Regions from separate parts of the Homo sapiens genome. Here region 1 is linked to region 2. Evidence: promoter capture Hi-C in human tissues and cell types (Jung and others, 2019). All regions are on one chromosome and are shown on one strand. Each heading gives the region's core, a stretch centred on a gene start or on the middle of the fragment in contact. The rest is flanking DNA. Distances are from core to core; before and after follow the strand shown. Region 1 overlaps DDIT4 (DNA damage inducible transcript 4). Region 2 holds the start of CHST3 (carbohydrate sulfotransferase 3).

The links. Contacts are between HindIII fragments. The study calls those that stand out against the background at their distance.
Region 1: a contact is called between a fragment that was not itself captured here and the fragment with the promoter of CHST3 in region 2, in 1 of the 25 tissues and cell types used here (dorsolateral prefrontal cortex).

What each region holds. Positions count from the first base shown.
Region 1 is chr10:72,275,439-72,278,276 of GRCh38, forward strand. It overlaps DDIT4 (DNA damage inducible transcript 4), which reads left to right. Exons shown (of 3, transcript NM_019058.4): 3 at 1-598. Among named protein-coding and RNA genes, the nearest start is that of DDIT4, 2.9 kb to the left of the region's middle. RefSeq lists an enhancer at 129-652. The HindIII fragment of the contact is 3,010 bases long and covers 41-2,838 here.
Region 2 is chr10:71,963,012-71,965,711 of GRCh38, forward strand. CHST3 (carbohydrate sulfotransferase 3) reads left to right here and starts at 1,384. Exons shown (of 3, transcript NM_004273.5): 1 at 1,384-1,683. The HindIII fragment of the contact is 9,967 bases long and covers 1-2,700 here.

The DNA of each region.
Region 1 (2,838 bases), core at 296-2,795, 310 kb after region 2:
CAGCTGGATGTGTGTGTAGCATGTACCTTATTATTTTTGTTACTGACAGTTAACAGTGGTGTGACATCCAGAGAGCAGCTGGGCTGCTCCCGCCCCAGCCCGGCCCAGGGTGAAGGAAGAGGCACGTGCTCCTCAGAGCAGCCGGAGGGAGGGGGGAGGTCGGAGGTCGTGGAGGTGGTTTGTGTATCTTACTGGTCTGAAGGGACCAAGTGTGTTTGTTGTTTGTTTTGTATCTTGTTTTTCTGATCGGAGCATCACTACTGACCTGTTGTAGGCAGCTATCTTACAGACGCATGAATGTAAGAGTAGGAAGGGGTGGGTGTCAGGGATCACTTGGGATCTTTGACACTTGAAAAATTACACCTGGCAGCTGCGTTTAAGCCTTCCCCCATCGTGTACTGCAGAGTTGAGCTGGCAGGGGAGGGGCTGAGAGGGTGGGGGCTGGAACCCCTCCCCGGGAGGAGTGCCATCTGGGTCTTCCATCTAGAACTGTTTACATGAAGATAAGATACTCACTGTTCATGAATACACTTGATGTTCAAGTATTAAGACCTATGCAATATTTTTTACTTTTCTAATAAACATGTTTGTTAAAACAGTTGGTTGAGTCTCTCATCAGTACCATGAAGTGAAAAGGAGGGAGATGGGTGCTAGTGAAAGGCAGGTCTCATCAGGCCCTGGGGTCCACCTGTGTGTTCCTCCATCCCTTTCCGGGACTGCCTGCCAGCCTGGTGACAGAGGTATGTGTACCGTGTGCCATCTGTGCCAAGAACCCTTGGCCCTGTGCTGGCTGAAGCTACTAGGAGAACACACTGGAAACCCCTGAAGGTAGGGGGTGAGTCAGACCTCCCACCGAGCCAGAGTCTCCAGAGGGAGAGCTCACCTGGCTGCCCCGGTTAGAAGGCCCAGACAGGAGGGCCCACTGAGCCCAAGGTCTTTAATAAACAGTGAAAGAACTAGAAAATACCTTTTTTCTTTCTGGGAGAAAAAAATCAGTTGTTCTACCATCATGAAAATTACAAATCTTATCTCTGGATTTAAAAAGACTAAGAGGGGGAGTTTGAAAAATGCTACTTAGCTCATGCCTCTCACTGGACAAGGAACCAAGAGGGGCATGAGCTGCCACTGGAAGGAAGTCTGGACCAGGCAGGTGCAGAACTCCTTGCACACACACAGGTGAGGGAAGGAGTGCTAAGGGCTTAGAGAGCAAGGAAATAGCAGGCCTACCTTAACGATACCTTGGGTCACCCAGACGTCCTCTGTGACCTGTTGTCCCAGCCACTTGGGATGCTGAAGCCAGAGGATTGCTTGAGTCCAGGAGTTCAAGGCTGCAGCCTGGGTGACAGCAAGACCCTGTCTCTAAAAACAAAAGATGCATTGTGCATTCTGGGCCCTAAGTTCCTTGTCAGAAAAATTGGCAAATTGGAGTTGGGCCAGATGAAGCCCAGGGCCTTTCCCCCTTCTTCCCTGGAATTACATCCACCCACACCAACTGGCATTTGGAGAGTTTTTATCTCCCTTGTTTCTCTTCCTGGTCCCAGACAGGCCTTGTTTGCTCAAGACTAAAACAGTGGCTCTTGCACTTGAGCGTGTGTAATCAGATCACATGGGCCCTCCTGGAGATTCTCAGTGCATCCGGGCCAGGGCCCCAGGAATCTGCATTTACATCAGGGATTCCAATAGAGGGTCCTAAACTTTACGATGACTTGGAAGACCCATCTCTCTTTGGTAGAACTGAGTGATTTGTTCCCCAAAATGGATAAACTTGGATTAGAAGTGCATTTGGAAATGGATAGTGAGAACAGTGAAGAAGGTGCCCAGACCAGTGTGAGGAAAGCCCTCACACCCATTTTCTTAGCACATCCTCCTAATAGCCACCCTGTGAGGGGTGGGTGGCGGCAGGGGTTTTTAATGTTTTACAGATTAGTAAATGGAGGCCCAAGCCCTGGAATGGTCATCTTCTTGGATAAGGGCTGACTTTGTCCACTCCCAGCCTATTGAGATTCAGGGCTGGGAGTAAAGCAAGCTTGACACCTGGGCTGAGTCTGAAGGGCACTTTCCCGGGAACTGAGATCTGTGCCAATGCTCACGACCCTGCCTCCCCAGTCTCAAAAGAGAAGCAAGGAAACAATTGTCTTCAGAGTACAGAGTCTTGTTGGTATTTGGGGGCCTGAGCTGGATGGATTGGTCAGCATTAGCCCTTCTCCAAGCCAAGGAGGCAGCTGAGCCCAGCACCGTACCTTTTCTTAGATAGTCAGACTGAGGCCAAATCAAAGCTTGGGTTCCCAAGCTAGCTCAGCTGAGATGCCCTCTCCCAGAGCCAAACTGGCTTCCCTCATTCTCACAGGGCCTGAAAATCCTCCTGCAGCAGGACAGAAGGGTCCGCAAGTGGGAGCCCTGAGCTTGAGTCTCACAGTAAAGGGAAGAGGGTTGCTGAGGCCCAAGACAGTTCTGGGTCCTGAGGTCTGCTAAGACATGGCAGGGAGCTTTGCCCCAGGTACCGGACTTGCTAAGAAAAAATGGGGCAGGCTTCTTTGTTGCTAAGCAGGAAAGCTAAGAAAGCTTATAAAGACCTACACATAAAATCAACTTTGGTAAATGCTTTCAGAAATTGTCCTATTTAGTGAGACCCTATCTGATAAAGAAAGGAAGGAAAGAAAAAAAAGAAAGGAAAGGAAAGGGGAAAGGAAAAAGGAAAGGAAAGGAAAAAGATTGCCCTATTTGGCCTGGAAAATATGTACTGATTACCTCCCTTCCTACAGGATTCCCTCTCTTATTCCTATTTCCCACCTCATCGGGTCAATGCTCTAGAACCTGCAATGGTTCCCTATTGCCAGA
Region 2 (2,700 bases), core at 134-2,633:
GTGTAACTTAAGTTTATCCACATTTCTCGTGACCTTCCCCATGCTGCCTGTTGGGCTGTAAGCAAGTCTGGTGACCTTGCTGTAGCACCTAGATAAGGGTCCAGGAATGCAGCTTCGGAGTATTCAGGGTAAGGGTCAGCTGCATTGTGTGTGGGGCGGGGGGTTCCTGGGGCAACTTGTCCCTAACAGGGTCAGGATTAGTTCTATCTGGTTCTCTATTTGCTGTCCATCTGTAAATGCTGAGAATGGCAGAGGGAGGCCAAGTGTAGATAATCAGGTTTTAGCTTTTTTGGATTTTCCTACTTCTCCTGTACAGGAAATAACTTATTGTCTAAACCCCATACTATCCCATTAAATGTCAGGAGTGCTGTCTTAGGCCTGAATTAGCTCATGACGTTACGTACTGGAAGTCCCAGGAGGAATGCCCAGCAAGTGGAATCCAAGACGTTCTCGCCTTCTCGGGGACAGGGCCATCACCAGGATTCGGAAAGGAACAGGGAGGTTCGGTTTGTGTTCCAGTTCTGAGCCCTTTACCTCATCCCTCGAGAAGCTGGCCTTTGCACCCCGCAGCCGGTGCTGCCCAGCCGACCACGCCATGCACGGGAGGCGACTGGGACCCCACTTGCCTGGCAGCCCGGCCGGAGACCCAGCTGCCTGGGAGGGTCCGAAGATAATGCCAGGCAGCCCTGGCGGGCCGGGAAGACCCTCTGTCCCTCCCGTTTCCCAGTTCTTGAATTAGGGGAGCCTTGGACTGGCTGGCGGCGCAGGAAAGTGCAGGAGGGCGGATGTGGGACCTGCTGCCGCCCAGGGAGACGGTGCTCTGTTCTTTGGAACCAGGGAAACCGTCCTCCAGCCCACTTGCCCCAGGGGGGAGCAGGAAGATCCTCTCCGGGCAGAGATGATGGGGAACCCGTGCAGCCAGAGGGTCTCCCTGGCAAAGGTCGGGGGAGGGGGCGGCCGTAACGGCCCCGGGCGCTCCGGCACGGAGAAGCCAAGGGGGTTCTCCAAGCAGCCTCCACCCACCAGCCTCGCCAGGAGAGCGTGGATACCCGAGCGGCCCCAAGCGAGTCCCCGGGGACTGGAGGGCCGAGGGGCAGCGCCCGGAACAAAGGCCCGCAGAGGGGTCCTGGAGACAGCGGCTCCCCGGGGGCGGCTCCCCTCTCTCCCCTCTCTCCCCTCCTCTCCTCTCCCGCCAGCTCCTCCTTCTCCTCCCCTTCCTCCCCCAGAGGCCCGGCCGGCTCGCGGCCCGAGCAGCGCCAACTTCGCCAACGGTTCCCAAGTTGCCGGGCGCGCAGGGGTGGGAGCTGGGTGGGGTGAGGAAGAGGAGGAGGAGGAGGAGAAGGGCTCCCGGACGCCTTGGACGCGGTTCAGGAATCCGCCGCCGCTAGCCGGCTCGGGCCTGAGCGGGGAGGGCGCCAGGCAGGACCTCTCGCAGGCTCGCTGCGCAGGACGGCGCCCGCCTGGCGCCGCTTCCCTTCCAGCGTGCCGACCGGCCCCGCAGCGCCTCCATCCCTCCGGCCCGCCCCGGAGAAGACGCACAGCTCGGGCCGCGCGGGCGCCGGGGCCGCGGAACCGCTTCTGCCGGGATCTTCCAGGAGGAAAGCGAAGTTGCGAGCGGATGCTGCCCGCGCCGGACCCCAGCCGCGGAGGGTCGGGGCCGCCGGTGGAGTCTCGGCGGCCGGGGTAAGTGGGGCGCCGGCGTCCTGGAACCGCCGCCCAGCCCGGGGGAGGCCGCCCAGCCGGGAGCCCCCGCCTTCCGCGTCCAGGCGCGCGCGCCAGACTTTGGAGGGAGAAGGGGGCGAAGCGGACGGTGGGAGGTGGAGTTCCCAGCTCGGGGAAAAGCCCAGGCAGGCACCCACAACCCGCTGCAACCGGATCACACCTGCCAGGTACACACAGCTCATCGCCACTCATACCCCGCACACGGCGCAGGCTGATCTGCGCACACCCACACCGGCCAGGCACATGCCACACACCGAAATGCACATTCCTGGGAGCGCGGGGGATTTGGCCTCTACAGCAGGCACGTCCTCACACCCCTCCGTCACATCCACGGCCTTTGTCTGCTGCCCCCGCAGCCCCCAAGGAGAGGGAGCCCCCAAAGCGCAGCGGGCAGGAGAGAGGCTGCCTGGGTTTTGAAAACTTGTGGCCAGAACCCCGAGACCAAGGGGAGCAGATGTTGCAGTCGGTTCTCGGAGTTCTGCAGGAGCGAATTTGGTGTGGAAACTCGGTGTCTGGGTGATGTGTGAGTGTGCGAAGCCCTTCCGGAGGCGAGGCCCGGAGAGAGGAGGGAGTGATTCATAAACTCAGAGCCGGCGTGCCAGGGTCTGTGAGCAGCGTGGAAGAGGCTGGCAGGCCGTTGCTGCGCTAGACAGAAGGGTAGTGGCCGTGACAGTCTTCCAGGGAAGCAGGGACCCTTCCCCCCAGCGGATGTGCTTCCTCCAGGGACTTCCAAGGGAACCGGGTGAGCAGATTCCAGTCCTGGGTGTGGACGGGGTAAGGGGAGGTGGGGGGATTTAAGCCTAAAAGGTTAGGGAGAAACCAAGGCAGGCCTGACGCCTTCATTATTTTCCTTGCACCTGAAGTTGTGTTTGGTTTCTGATGCGTGGTGTTGCTGGGCCCCAGGATGTACGGGGGATTGTCCTGGGCCTAGCATAGTGCCTGGCACAGTGGGCACTCAGTCAGTACTTGCTTGATGAA